Linked DNA regions of Homo sapiens: region 2 is linked to region 1. Evidence: promoter capture Hi-C in human tissues and cell types (Jung and others, 2019). All regions are on one chromosome and are shown on one strand. The core of a region is centred on a gene start or on the middle of the fragment in contact, and the rest is flanking DNA. Distances in the headings are between cores, read along the strand shown.

Region 1 (6,847 bases), core at 2,965-5,464:
CTCAGGGCCCTTGCACAACTGTTCCCTCTGCCTGGAATGCTTTTCCCCCGGATCTCTTTGTGGGTCCTTCCGTTAAGTCCTTTGGTCTCTGTTTATGTGGCACCTTCCAGGGAGGCTTTTCCTGACCTCCCTCCTTAAAATTATAGCCCCCATGTCCAGACACACACCCTGTCCCCTCCCCTACTTTCCCCCATAGCATTTGTAATAATTTTTTGTTTTTTGAGACAGGGTCTTGTTGCCCGCCAGGCTGGAGTGCAGTGGTATAACCTTGGCTCACTGCAGCCTTGACCTCCTGGGTTCAAGTGATCCTCCCACCTCAGCCTCCTGAGCAGCATGCCACCATACCCAGCCAACTTTTTTTTTTTTTTTTTTTTGTAGAGACGAGGTTTTGCCATGTTGCCCAGGCTGGTCTCAAACTGCTGGGCTCAAACGATCCACCTGCCTCGGCCTCCCAAACTGCTGGGACTATAAGTGTGAGCCACCATGCCTGGCCTGACATAATTTGACTTAGGCATTTTGCTTGTCTGGCTCACACACCAGGTCATACCTCCCCAGGGAGTTGTGTCCATCTTGTTCAATGTTGTGTTCTCAGTGCCAGTCACACAGTAAGTGCTCAATGAATATCTGTTGAATGAATGAAGGAGCTGCCCACATCCTGGGTTTGGGTCAGCCTCTCTCTTTTTTTTCCCCCATCATCAGTATTTATTGAGCATTTACAGTGTACTAGGCACAATAGAACATACAGAAAACATTTCCCTGCCCTTGAGGAGCTTACATTTTAAAAGAAAAAATACACCTCTTTTAAAATGGCATTTTTGTTTGGTGTTTTCTGCAAAGTACCGAGGAAATATTTTGTAAAGTGATGCTTTGGGTATAACTTAGCCCCATCATTATTTAAAGAATAGAGGAAGAAGAAAGAGGAAGGATTTTAAAGGCAGACAATGACAGACCATTCAGGATAGGTAGGGTTTTAAAGGGAGATAAACACAATCTCATCGACTAAGGAGAGATTTGCTGTAGTAAATAGGATGAGGGAAATAGTCTGTGGGATGCAAGCAAAGGAAGCAGGGTGCCTTAGACATTGATTGGAGCCAGAAAGATCATGCGGCCTTTTTCCAAGTACATGGCCACCAAGTAGGAATGGTTGGTGACAAGACAGAAGGCTAAAAAAGGAAGGTAATCTTGTGCACCTGACAAATAGAAAGAATAAAGGATCAAAATCGAAGGCAGGCTACAATAGTATCAAGAAATTCTTAAAAACCAAAAAGTGATTTGGAAGCACAAAACTTATAGTTAATGCTATTGAGTCAGCCTCTCTTTACAGCCTTCTGTCACCCCAGGTCCTGCCCACCTCAGATCATGCTTGCATCCTGACTTTGGCCACAATCCTTCCCATCCAGAGACTCAGTTTCCTGCATCCACAGAGAGCAGGTTTGGGACTTTTCTCCTAGGAATCAAGGTAAGAGGCAGCCTCTTGTGACCCATGTCAAACATTTATTCTGCTTTCTGCATGGTCATGGAGTTCCCCAATCTGACTGTGCCACTTACAGACAGAAAGAAATCAAGAGATGTCACTATAGCAAGCCAGCAAGAGACCTTTGTCTCTGATGGTTCTTGATGGTACTTCTTGAGCTCCAGTGGTGCAGCTGTGCATCCCAGTCTGGCCCTCACCTGGTCCTCATGTGTGGCCCTTTTTACATCTCCAACCCATTGCCTCTGCTGTTCCTTTCCAGGGATGCTCTTCTTGCTTCTCTGCCTGGTAAGCTCCTACTGGTCCTTAAAAGTCCAGTCTCAAAATCACCTCCTCTGAGAGGCCTTCCTTGTCCCCACCCAGATGGAGATGGCTGCATCACCCAGGCACCCTCCTGGGACTTTTGCTCATGCATCTATTTATAGCACTCACATGGAGTTTTGTGATTCCTGAGCTGTTTATCGGGCTCCTGACTAATCCCCAAACTCCTTGTATGCGAGGGCCTGTCTGAGTCATCTGGCCGCCAAGGAGGTTGGCACGGGACTGGAGTCGCTTCACCCTGGTCTGTGGATGCTTTCCTCCTTCCTTTTTTCATTCCTCAAATATTTATCAGGCACCTACTATGTGCCTGGTTCTGGGCTATGCATTGGGAACACAGCAGGGAATGAGGCTCGGATGGTCTGGAGGGAGAGCTGTGTTAAAAACTGAGTCAGTAACAAAGACATCAGCAGCATAAGTGTTGTGCCTCAGTCTGGGGACCATGATGAGAAGGCCTCTTAGGGGTGTTCATTTAGGAAGCGGTCTGAGGGATGAGAGGGAACCAGCCCCAGGAGGCTTGAGTGGAAGAATGTTCTGGGCAGGAGCAGCAAGGGTGAAGCTGCTGCGGCAGGACCATCCCTGGCACATTTGAGGGGCAATACTGAGACTCTTGAACATCCCAAGAAGCAGAGTGCACAAGGCGGAGTGTGGCCTTGTGCAGAAGTCAAGGCTGTTGGCCAGTGCCTGAACCCAGAAAACTCGCTGGACTAGCCTTGCAGTTCTGGTAGAAAGGAAGCTGCTCCTGGATGCCCATTTTACAGACGGATAAGCACAGGTCACCAGGGATGATATGGCAAGGATGGAGGCAGCCCACAGTGTTTTCAAACTCACATTTCCTGGGCACCTAGTGAGTGCCAAGCCCTAGGCCAGGTGTTTCCACTCCTGAACTCATGAAACGCTTTCAGAGACCTTATTGTCCCCATGGGATAGGTAAACTGAGGCACAGAGCTGCTCAGTGACTTCTTTAAGGTCATCCAGCTAGTAAGTGGAGGAATTGGTATTGGAACCCATACCTATCTGAGCCCCAGACTCATGATTTTCCATCCCACTGCCTGGGAAGGGTGAACAGGAGACGCAGGAAGAGAATGGTGATGGCTGCAAGGCTTCCCTCTTATCTCCTGTGGCTCCCCACTCTGTGCATGGGGCCCTGCATCACCCCCACTTTACACCTGGGCAAGCAGAGGTCAGGCCCGGCCTCAAGCCTTTCTAGCAGGTGGTGGAATCTGCTTCCCTCACGTGAGGTCCCTGACAGGGTACACATGTCTGCCTGGAGGCCAGGGGCTGACCCCTTGACCTTTGCCTGGTACATTCTGCCTTCACTAGCCCTGGCTTTACATCCAGAGTCATCTGTTCCCAGCGCCAGATTGGTCAGCGGTTCCTGAAATCCCCCGAGGTTCCGTGTGGGAGCAGAGGGAGGACTGGCCCATCCAGCCATTATGCAGATGGGCAGACTGAGATCCTAGGAGGAGAGGAGAGAACGAAGGTCCAGGAGAGAGCCAGGATGGGGCCTCGGGGCTCGCGGGATAAAATGCACCGCATGCCGCCTCACTCCCTCTGAGACACGGTTTCCCCCTGTGTAGAACAGGGGCAGCAGTAACCAGCCACGAAAACTCCTCGTGCTGCCTCGTCACCGGGCATCGCTGAGCTCACCACCGACCCCGCGCCCTGGCCGGGCGCCTGGAGCGCGGGCGCGGGCGACGTTTGCTGGCGCCAGGCCCTCAGTGCGTGTTAGCGAGCAGCGCCGGGAGATAGCTGTCACCGCCGCCCGCTCACAGATGCGTAGACTGAGGCTCAGGTGTCACCACCTGACCAAGGCTAGTTCCGCTACAAAGCTGCCGACTCGGATCCGAACCCGGGTCCAATTTACAGAAAAGGAAACTGAGGCCCAGAGACACTAGGGAGCTTGCTAGGGTGAGGCAGCTGCAGGTTCAGAGAGCCAGGAGGCAGCCCAGCAGCGCACTTTTAACCCCCGCCCACTTCGGCAGGCCCAGCCGTGCCACCTTTAGGGATCTCGGGTTTTTTCCAGACGACGCACCCAGGAGAACGCGCCCGCGCATCGCACCCGCCGGGGCTGCGGGTCTGGGGGTGCCGGGCTGGGCCTGGGCGCCTGCAGGGAGCAGCGGGCTCAGTGGGTCCCGGGAGTGGGTGGGGCTTGCATGTTGACGGGCAGCGCGAGGGGCGCGGCTTTAGTCCAGGGGGCGGAGCCTGACCGGACCTGGGTTTTTCGGGCGGCTGGCGGACTTGACAGAGAGCGGGAGGGGCCCGGATCCTGGGCCTAAGGAGGGTGGGGCGTGTGCTTGACAGGCAGGGACAGGCCGGCGTCTGATAGGCAGAGGACGGGCCTTGGAAACGAAAGGACCAATCGGGCACGCAGGGGCGGGGCCTGAGTCAGCGCAGTTCGGCCGGGGTCTCCCCGGCGCTGCCCAGTCTGTCTCCGGCGCCGCCCGTCGCGGACTCGTCCTTGCTGCAGTCGCCGCCGCAGTCCTCGCCGCAGTCGCCGCCGCCGCCGCCGCCGCCGCCGCTGCTCCTCCGCCTGGCCTGGGCCGTCTGCCCGCAGCCATGAGCGTGCTCGGCCCCGGTGGAGCCCGCAGTCCTCTAGATTAGTCTCCACCGCCGTCCAGGACCCACTTGCAGCATGGAGTCGCCCGCCTCGAGCCAGCCCGCCAGCATGCCCCAGTCCAAAGGTAGGCGCTCCCGGCCGGGACCTCGGCCTGACCCCGCGCCTAATCTGGGGCCGGGCTGCAAACCCCGACCTTTCTTTGGTCCCACCCCATCCTGTTCTCGACCTGGCAGCGGCGTCCGGTCCCGGAACCCCTTCCTGTTCGGGGTCCCGGGACCAGCCCCCGCCTGGGCCCTCACCTGGACCCCCACGTTAGGCCTTGGGACTGCACTCAGGCCCGAGATCACCCAGGCTGGACCCAGACTAGGACTTTGTTCTGCTCACCCCATCCAAGTCAGGAGCCTCATTCTGACCTCATTTGGGCCTTATGGCTGCAGCCTGGACATGAACTCTCCCAGTCTTCTCCCTCAGCGGGACCCAGGTGAGATTCACACTGGCCTTCACCTGGGTCCTTGGGCAGCACCCAGTCCCATTTCTAGCTTCGGGTCCCAGGGCTGTATCCAGGTTGGGATTTAACTTGAGTCTCCATCTGGGCCCCAGAGTGCTCCTGTTGTTGCGGACCTCACTGTACCCCCTATGCGGGTGCTCTGGCTACACCCCAGCTCGGAACTCCCCGTCCTTCTCTCCCCCAGCTCTTCTTATCCTTATAGGCCCTATGTTGCCCCTTCCCTGGCTGGCCTGCACCCTGTCCTGCAGCCCTGGGCTCCCAGGAACCTTCCTTGTCCTCCCACCCCTCCCTAAGGTACAGCCCCCTCTCTACCGGCCTCTCTCTGTCTTGAGTTGCAAGCTTCTCCCTGCACTGGGGGTTCTCACCCCATCTTATTCTTGTCCTGGCTGCCTGGGATCTGGGCCAGCCGCCAGGCCAGGGTGCTGGCTGTGCAAGGGATTTGCTCTTCTCCAAGTAGCTGGCCTTCCTGGAAATTTTTGTGAGGTGGCAGCAGCAGGATTTGTCATGCGGAGGGGGAAGGATGAAACTCGGAGGGCAAAAGGGGAATTTTTTTTTTTTCAGGAAGAGGAAAGGATGTTTTTGGTGCGTCGGAGTTTCAGTAGGCTGGGTTGTGCGAGAGATTTCCAAACCGGACATAGCCGTAATGAATGGGCTGCCTCCTGGCTTTCTGAACCTGCAGCTGCTTCACCCCAGCAAGCTCCCTGGTGTCTCTGGGCCTCAGTTTCCTTTTCTGTAAATTGGAAGTAATCGCACCTGCTTCTGTGGACGTGGGAGTGTGGTGTGGGGTGGTGAATAGTAAAGAGCTCTGAGGCGTTCTCTCAGCGTAGCACCTGGCGCAGAGCCGGTGCTCACCAGGGTACACTGGCTGCACACATCTCGCTATTGTTTCCATTCTTCTTGCTGGAAAGGCCTCCACTGCTGGAAGTGCAGCCTCAGAGTGAGCAGGAGGAAGCACCTAGCAGCGGGCACCTAGTGGGCACTTCATCAGGGGTCAGCCGCTCTTCTGTTCTGGAGGGTGCAGGCCAATGGGAGCCCTATGTGGGCCTGGGGAGGGCATGGGCTCTTCCTGGCCCCTGCTGCTGGCTGCTATGGTGGCTGGAGCCGGGTGGGCTGGATAATTATGCCTTACATAAGTGGGAGGCCGGATCCCTGACCATTGCCCAACCACTGTGAGTAACTCGGGAGGCACTCGACGGGGGAGGTGTCTGGGGAGGGACTTGCACTGCACAGACCTCGTGGAGCTTGGGAACCAGGAAATCAGACACTTCTCCACTCTGGAGAGCTCGGGGAAGGGTAGGAAGCACTGTTTGTTTTGGAGGCTTTTTAGCTCTCCAGGCAGAGAATGCCTCATCAAAATAAAAGTTCCAGTTGCAGAGTTGTGAAAGGAGAGGGGTCATAGATGCAGTGAGAATGCTGTGAGAGGGCCAAAATGAACTTCTAGATGTGGACCCAGGTCCTAGATGAGGTTGAGGGGGCTGGATGGAGGGTCAGGGACCTCCCTCAGGCCCAGGGACTCTGTAGTCTCTTTGGGGTCTGGGGAAGGATGTGGTGGCAGAGCCACAATGCCCTTCACCAAAAACCCTATGAGCTCCTTCTTTTTTTCCATGTGCCATGCATTTTCTCATTTATTCCTCATAGCCCCATTTACTGATAAGGAAACTGAGGCGTTAAGTGCCTTGCCTGAGGCCACACAGCTGTGACAGGCGGAGCTAGGGTTCCCCCTAGGACTGTGTTTCCACAGTGGCCTTCCCCGTGCTCCCCTATGTGCCCCTCCCATGCTGGATGCCTGAGCTGAGCTGGTGGGGTGCCCCCACCCCTGGCCTTGCTCAGAGCATGTGCAGTGGGCCTGTCCTCATGGCCACGTCAGACCTAGAGGACAGACTGAGGCAGAGGTGATGCCTCTCCTGTGCACAGCGCTTTACACTGGGCCTGTTGCATTCTCGCTGCAAAATCCCACTCATTTGACAGATGCAGAACTCAGCTTGGATGG
Region 2 (6,847 bases), core at 1,744-4,243, 130 kb after region 1:
GGAGGCCTCTGGTGCCAAGGTGGCGAGGCAGTGGCAGGATGTCTTGCGGGAGGGTGTCCAGGGTGGGTTTGAGGGACAGCCTGGGGCCAGGGGCTGTGGCCGGAAGGGGAGTCCGCTGGAGGAGGCTGGGAGGTGAGGTCCGAGGGGTCAGGAGCTTCCCTGTGCAGGTCCTGCATGTCCTGGGGGGCCTCTGGCATTGAGCAGGGGAGGGATAGGCACCGACTCAGCTTCCACAGGCCCTCTGTGGCTGCCATGGAGACTGGGGGGCCATGGGCAGAGGCAGAGAGGCTGGCAAGTTGTGCCCCGAACTGGCTGGGCAGGCACTGTTAGATTCAGGCCTTGAGGGTGGGAGAAGGGGTCGGATCCTAAATAGACTCTTCAGAGCCCTCAGTGTGGGAGTGAGGTGTGGAGCTGAGGTTTTTGGCTGGAGCTGCTGGGGGCCCGAAGGGGGTGGCCATTCGCACTGGGAAGGCGGAGTGGGGAGCTGGCTTGGGCAAGACCAGAGCACGATCGTGGGTCAATCAGGGTGGAAGCGTCCTCCAGTCACGTCTGGGGGCCCTGGGATGGGGGTAGAGGAGCCCGGAGCCACCAGCCCAGCCAGACATGCTGTCGTCTCTGTTGCAGGAGCCGCCCTGCCTGGAGCTAGCCTGGGGGCGAGCCAGGGTCCCCCAACCCCCGGGATGACCGCGGCCAGCCGGGCCAACCCCTACAGCATCGTGTCATCGGAGGAGGACGGGCTGCACCTGGTCACCATGTCGGGCGCCAACGGCTTCGGCAACGGCAAGGTGCACACGCGGCGCAGGTGCCGCAACCGCTTCGTCAAGAAGAATGGCCAGTGCAACATTGAGTTCGCCAACATGGACGAGAAGTCACAGCGCTACCTGGCTGACATGTTCACCACCTGTGTGGACATCCGCTGGCGGTACATGCTGCTCATCTTCTCGCTGGCCTTCCTTGCCTCCTGGCTGCTGTTCGGCATCATCTTCTGGGTCATCGCGGTGGCACACGGTGACCTGGAGCCGGCTGAGGGCCGGGGCCGCACACCCTGTGTGATGCAGGTGCACGGCTTCATGGCGGCCTTCCTCTTCTCCATCGAGACGCAGACCACCATCGGCTACGGGCTGCGCTGTGTGACGGAGGAGTGCCCGGTGGCCGTCTTCATGGTGGTGGCCCAGTCCATCGTGGGCTGCATCATCGACTCCTTCATGATTGGTGCCATCATGGCCAAGATGGCAAGGCCCAAGAAGCGGGCACAGACGCTGCTGTTCAGCCACAACGCCGTGGTGGCCCTGCGTGACGGCAAGCTCTGCCTCATGTGGCGTGTGGGTAACCTGCGCAAGAGCCACATTGTGGAGGCCCATGTGCGCGCGCAGCTCATCAAGCCGCGGGTCACCGAGGAGGGCGAGTACATCCCGCTGGACCAGATCGACATCGATGTGGGCTTCGACAAGGGCCTGGACCGCATCTTTCTGGTGTCGCCCATCACCATCTTGCATGAGATTGACGAGGCCAGCCCGCTCTTCGGCATCAGCCGGCAGGACCTGGAGACGGACGACTTTGAGATCGTGGTCATCCTGGAAGGCATGGTGGAGGCCACAGCCATGACCACCCAGGCCCGCAGCTCCTACCTGGCCAATGAGATCCTGTGGGGTCACCGCTTTGAGCCCGTGCTCTTCGAGGAGAAGAACCAGTACAAGATTGACTACTCGCACTTCCACAAGACCTATGAGGTGCCCTCTACGCCCCGCTGCAGTGCGAAGGATCTGGTAGAGAACAAGTTCCTGCTGCCCAGCGCCAACTCCTTCTGCTACGAGAACGAGCTGGCCTTCCTGAGCCGTGACGAGGAGGATGAGGCGGACGGAGACCAGGACGGCCGAAGCCGGGACGGCCTCAGCCCCCAGGCCAGGCATGACTTTGACAGACTCCAGGCTGGCGGCGGGGTCCTGGAGCAGCGGCCCTACAGACGGGAGTCAGAGATCTGAGCCAACCTTGGCCGACATGCAGCATCCACCCCCGGCTGGGGAGAGGCCCCGCGGTCGCTCAGGGGCCCCGGGTTTGAGCAGAACGGGCCCAGTGCCCTGGGTTGCAGACTCAGTAGCGTTTTAGTCGTTTTATGTTTCTTTGCAACGGCCTCAGAAGTTTGGCCGGAGAGGGGGCAGCCAGAGCGGCAGCCCCCGGCCTCAGAGGCTATCACAGGCTCAGGGCAAAGAAGTGGCCTCCTGGGGGGCCAGGCCACGAGGGCCAGGGCTTCTGCCTGAAGATGGAGCTGCAGCCTGCGGGGAAGCAGCTCAGCTCGATGGTGGGCCCAGCCTCTGCTGTCCAAGGCTGGCTAGCTGCGGTGCTCCTTGCTGGTTTTTAACTTGGGGAGAAACACCGGGTTTCAGCTTTCTTGACCTTAGCTTGGGTGAGACTGTTTACAAAAAAAAAAAATTACCATGCAATTGAAAAAATTTTTTTTTAATTCACAGGGGGCAAAAAGAACAATTAGAATTCCATGGGTCTGCCAGGATGCAGCAGCTGGCTGAAGGCTCCAGAGGGTTCCCCGAGGTGGGACTGGCCTCTCCCCGTGTGTGTGGGCACCACAGTCCCTGGGCAAGCAGGGTGCTCTGGGACCGCACTTCATCGAGCTCACGAGCCAGCTAGGCTCTGTTTGTGATAGAAAAATCAAGACCATGTTAATGATCGTAATAAAAGCTTTCTACTGTCGTTGGGGTGGTGGGTGGGGCTGGGAAGAAACTGGTTTGAGCTTTTAGAGTTTGCCTTTGTACCTTAGAGATGTGTCTCAGGGCCAGGCATGGGACCTGCCATCGAGGGTTCCTCCCCGCACCCTCGATTTTCCTGTTTTGCTTCTCTCTCCATTTCTGTCCAGGCCTCCGCCCAATTCCACAGTGAGGGGTGGTTAGGAGCTATAGGCCGGGATGGCTCCTTGGGAAGGGAAGTCGGGATCCCAGGCTAGGAGGAAGCTGGCAGCCCCGTCCCCACTGGGCCCACAGTGTGAGTCGTGCCTTAGAGACTCCGGGTTGTCCTGTTCTTTCTGGGCTTGCTCATCTCCCCCCAACCCTGTCCCACCCCACCCCTCCCATACCTCCACTGCTGAAGTTCCTCCAGCCCCTCTGTCTGCCTTGTGAAGGTGGCAGGGGCCAGGTCTGCCTGACATAGGACCACATCCTGTCCCTCCCTCACCTGGAGCAGCACAGCAGAGTTCAGGCAGGGCACAGCCAGGCCCTGGTCAGCGCTGAATGGCAGAGGAAAGATCTTAGGAAAGGAGAGGAATCGCCACCCCCTCCTGCCAACTGGGATGACTGGGGAGGGCCACGCTCATTCAAAGCTGAATCAGAAACCAGCCGTGGAACAGAATTCCTGCCGAGTCTTCCAGGGCCGCTCCTCCACCACCCTCCCCCAGGTTGAGGCACTATGGCACCCTCATCAGGAAGAGGTTTGGGGTCCCCTTGTTGTCACTGCTGGCTCTGCCACCCCATCTTGTTCATGGCAGCTGGTTGGGTCAGGTCCATGGTAGAGCCAGGCCCTTCCCAGGGCTGCGGAGAAAACCTGCTCTCTTCTAGTCGGGCTTCTCCAGAAGCCAGTAATCAGAAAGGATGTGTCTCCTGCTCCAACTCTGCCCCCGAGACAGCTCAGAGCCAGAAGGCACCCCGAGACAGCTCAGAGCCAGAAGGCACCCCGAGACAGCTCAGAGCCAGAAGGCACCGAGGACTCTGGCCCAAGTGGGGAAGCTGAGGCAGAGAGCAGAGGGGGTCATGCAGTGAGTGGGTGGGGTGCAGGAGACAGAGAGGGGCTGGGGGCGTGGGGTGGGGGTGTCTGCCTCTTCCCTCCACCTCCTCCCCTCCTTAGCAGCTGAAGACTCAGCCCTGAGGTCTGGGGCAATGGAAGTCAAGACACCCGACCCCTACATCCTGGGGTAGGCCCGACTCAGCATCCTGTCCCAGCTTCAGCCCCACACTCATTTCTGGCATAGAAGATTCCGCCGAGGCAGCTCTTTCCTCTCGGGGTCTGCCAGGGGTGCCTCAGCTGGTTCCTGCTCCCAGGCCTAGCCCCGAAGCCTTAGGGGCCTTCTCAGCCTTAGCCCTGGGTACTGGGGTGAAGTTGGCAGGGGAGAGCTTGACACTTCGCCTCCCTGATGGCCATGCTGAGGGACAGTGGTGACCCTGGTCACTTGGTGCTGGTGTAGGGGCCTGTGCCCTTCCAGGGCCAGTGAGACAGCCTTCTACTCCCCCGACCCAGAGCTGAGTCCGAGGACCCCAGGCCCACCTCCTGGCCCTCTTGGAGGTCTGTGCTCTTACCTCCCAGCCCCCACCCTGCGGGAGAGCAGCCCCAGCGCCTCATCTCCCCAAAGGCGGCAGATGCTTGATTCTCCTGCCCTCTTTCTTCCTTCCCTCGTATTTATTTATTTATTTATTGCTTGTGCTAAAGACCAAAATAGTCTCCCTCTTTAGTGCACTTGAAGCGGGAGGGCGGATGGGATGAGCCAGGAGCGAGGAAGACTTGGCCCCTGGGGAGTGTGTGTGTGGAGGCGTGTGCCTGTGTGAGCCTGCATGCATACATGTGTGGTGCACACATGCACACTCGGCTCTTCATGTGTATGACTGGGTTAGTAATACAGATACGTGATCTATACGTGTGTGTGTGTGTGTGTGTGTGTGTGTGTGTGTATGCAGGCGGTTATGTGTCTGTCTACCCCCAGGTGTTTCCGTGTACAAGTTTCCTGTGAGGGAGGGCACCCACCCATCAGGTTGGGCACTGGCACAGGTGAACCCCACAGTCCCCGACCCTCTGCCCTGATTATGCACGTCTGCTCCTGAGTGGAGCTTGTGTTCCAGGATGAGACATCTGGAGGTGAGCGTGTGCGTCCGGCTCGTGTGTAGGAGGCTGTGTGTGTGCCCATGTGAAACCGTGTACTTGAGTGTGTGTCTGTGTGCAGCCTATGCCTGCTGCTCAGAGCACGGTGGCCACCCCCTGAGCCTCTGCTGGTGCTGTGCTGCGTGGTCCCCACCCAGAGGGTCCTGGGGGGCGGGGAGGAGCCACCGTTGGGAGGCCCCTGTACGGGGTGTCTGCCCTGCGTGAGGGCATAGAATGTCAAATTATTTTAAATGGTGAAACTGGAGAGTTTTCATGTTATTTTCAATACATAGCAGTATCTAAAGACGTAGGCGATGAGACTAGACCACATTAAATGCATTTTGATCTCTTTGAGGTCCCCTGTGTTGAGATGTGTTTTCTGAAGTTCCCCTGCATGGCTCCACAGCGTGCTGGGCGTCCGCCCGGCTTCCTCAGCCTCCGCCTTGGGTGGGGGTTTCCTGGGGCTTCCTCATGGGTGAGGGTGGGGCATGGTGGCAGCTGTTGGGAGATGGAACAGAACTCAGCCTCCTTGCAGCTCCCAGTGGTCTCCAGCAAGCACACAGGGCTTGTCCCATGATGTCACCCATCCCAGGCGGCAGGGCCGAGCCTCCTGCCTTCCCTTCCTTCTGCAAGGATGTGCTGGGTGCCTGCTGTTGCAGCAGCGCCCTCCCCAGCTGGGGGAGGCTGACCTGAGACAGGCAACTCCTTTCCCAGGAGGGGAAGCCCTGCTCCAGCTTGTAGCAGGCAGGGGCTGAGGAGGAGTTTCAGAGCGTGCCAATGTCTCCACTGAGGTGACGAGACAAGCCTGGAGTGGGGTGAGGGAACACACACGGCCCAGTTTTGGGAAACTAGACTTTCATCTGTACCTTGAGGCTCAGCCCCAGATCTCCAAGGTCTTCAGCAGGGACTTGTGGGGAGAGAATTCCTTCCCTTCCCAAACTATGTGAGTGGAGAGTTCTCCACTCCTCTGCATCAGCAAAGGACTCAGGGCACCCTCTTTCTGCAGGATTTCGATGATGATTCCAGACAACCCCGGATAAGAATCCCCTGCCTGAGTCATTCCTGGGTGATGGTGCCGTGCATGGCAGAATGTGGAGCAGGGGCTTGGGTGCCAGGGCCTAGGGGGTCATGAAGGCTTCCCAGTGGGAGCTCCCTTGGGTTGGACTTGGGGTGACCCGGGGACCCTGGAGGTGGCTTGGTTTGGTGGGGACCTCCTTTCTGACTCTGGGGCCCTCCTGGGACCCCAGTAGCAGGATCAAGGCCAACTGGGGCCAAAACACGGTAGCATCTGTCTTCACTCAAGCCCTCCGGGCCATTCCCATGGCGCTGACTGGTAGGCATGAGGCCCTGGCCCCAGTTGGTGCTCAACAAATGCTTATCGTAGAGTCTCCAGGTGCGCTGTCCTGGCTGTACTAATGCCGCAAAGGGCCCTGGGTCAGAATGCAGGCCACTCATTTGCTGGGGGACCTCCTGTGAATTCCTTTCCCCCTCCAGCCTCGGTCTCCTGATCTGCAAAAAGGGGGTGTTCATAAGAATGGCCAGCTCACAGGTTTGTTGGAAAGGAGGAGAAAGAACCCTGACATAGTGAGTGCTCCTCAGTGCCTGCCTTCTGCTAAGTCAGATTGCACTGGCACTGCCCGCCCTCCTGAGGGGCACCCGGAGGTGCTGCTCTGGCTCAAGGTCACAGCAAGGAACACATAGCCCAGGCCTAACCCCAGGTCTGCGTGACTTCCATGCACTTCCCTGCCTCTCCAGGGATGATGTGAGCCCAATCCAGAATCTGCTTTAAAACAGGTAGAGCTGGGATGGGGGTGGAGAGCTTGTGAGCGTTCACTGAGCGCCTGCGAGCTTGATGTTTGAGGTCTGTCAGGCCCCACCCTTGATCTTGGGCTGGCCCGTGTCAGCAGGCCTCAGAGGCACTGCTAACCTATTTTAGAGGAGGTTGGTCGAGGGAAGCTAAGGGACTTGCTCGAGGCCCCCACAGGGTAGTTCC

The links. The method cuts DNA at HindIII sites, captures the fragments that hold promoters and counts their contacts. A contact is called where the count stands out against the background at its distance.
Region 2: a fragment that was not itself captured here is called in contact with the fragment with the promoter of MAP2K3 in region 1 in 4 of the 25 tissues and cell types used here (bladder, dorsolateral prefrontal cortex, mesendoderm cells and 1 more).

Annotation. Positions count from the first base shown.
Region 1 is chr17:21,280,497-21,287,343 of GRCh38, forward strand. MAP2K3 (mitogen-activated protein kinase kinase 3) reads left to right here and starts at 4,215. Exons shown (of 12, transcript NM_145109.3): 1 at 4,215-4,473. The coding sequence starts at 4,425. RefSeq lists enhancers at 3,287-3,787, 5,864-5,923 and a silencer at 3,674-4,203. The HindIII fragment of the contact is 7,420 bases long and covers 1-6,685 here.
Region 2 is chr17:21,414,663-21,421,509 of GRCh38, forward strand. KCNJ12 (potassium inwardly rectifying channel subfamily J member 12) reads left to right here. Exons shown (of 3, transcript NM_021012.5): 3 at 625-5,208. The coding sequence starts at 681. The coding sequence ends at 1,982. Among named protein-coding and RNA genes, the nearest start is that of KCNJ12, 42 kb to the left of the region's middle. The HindIII fragment of the contact is 7,187 bases long and covers 1-6,587 here.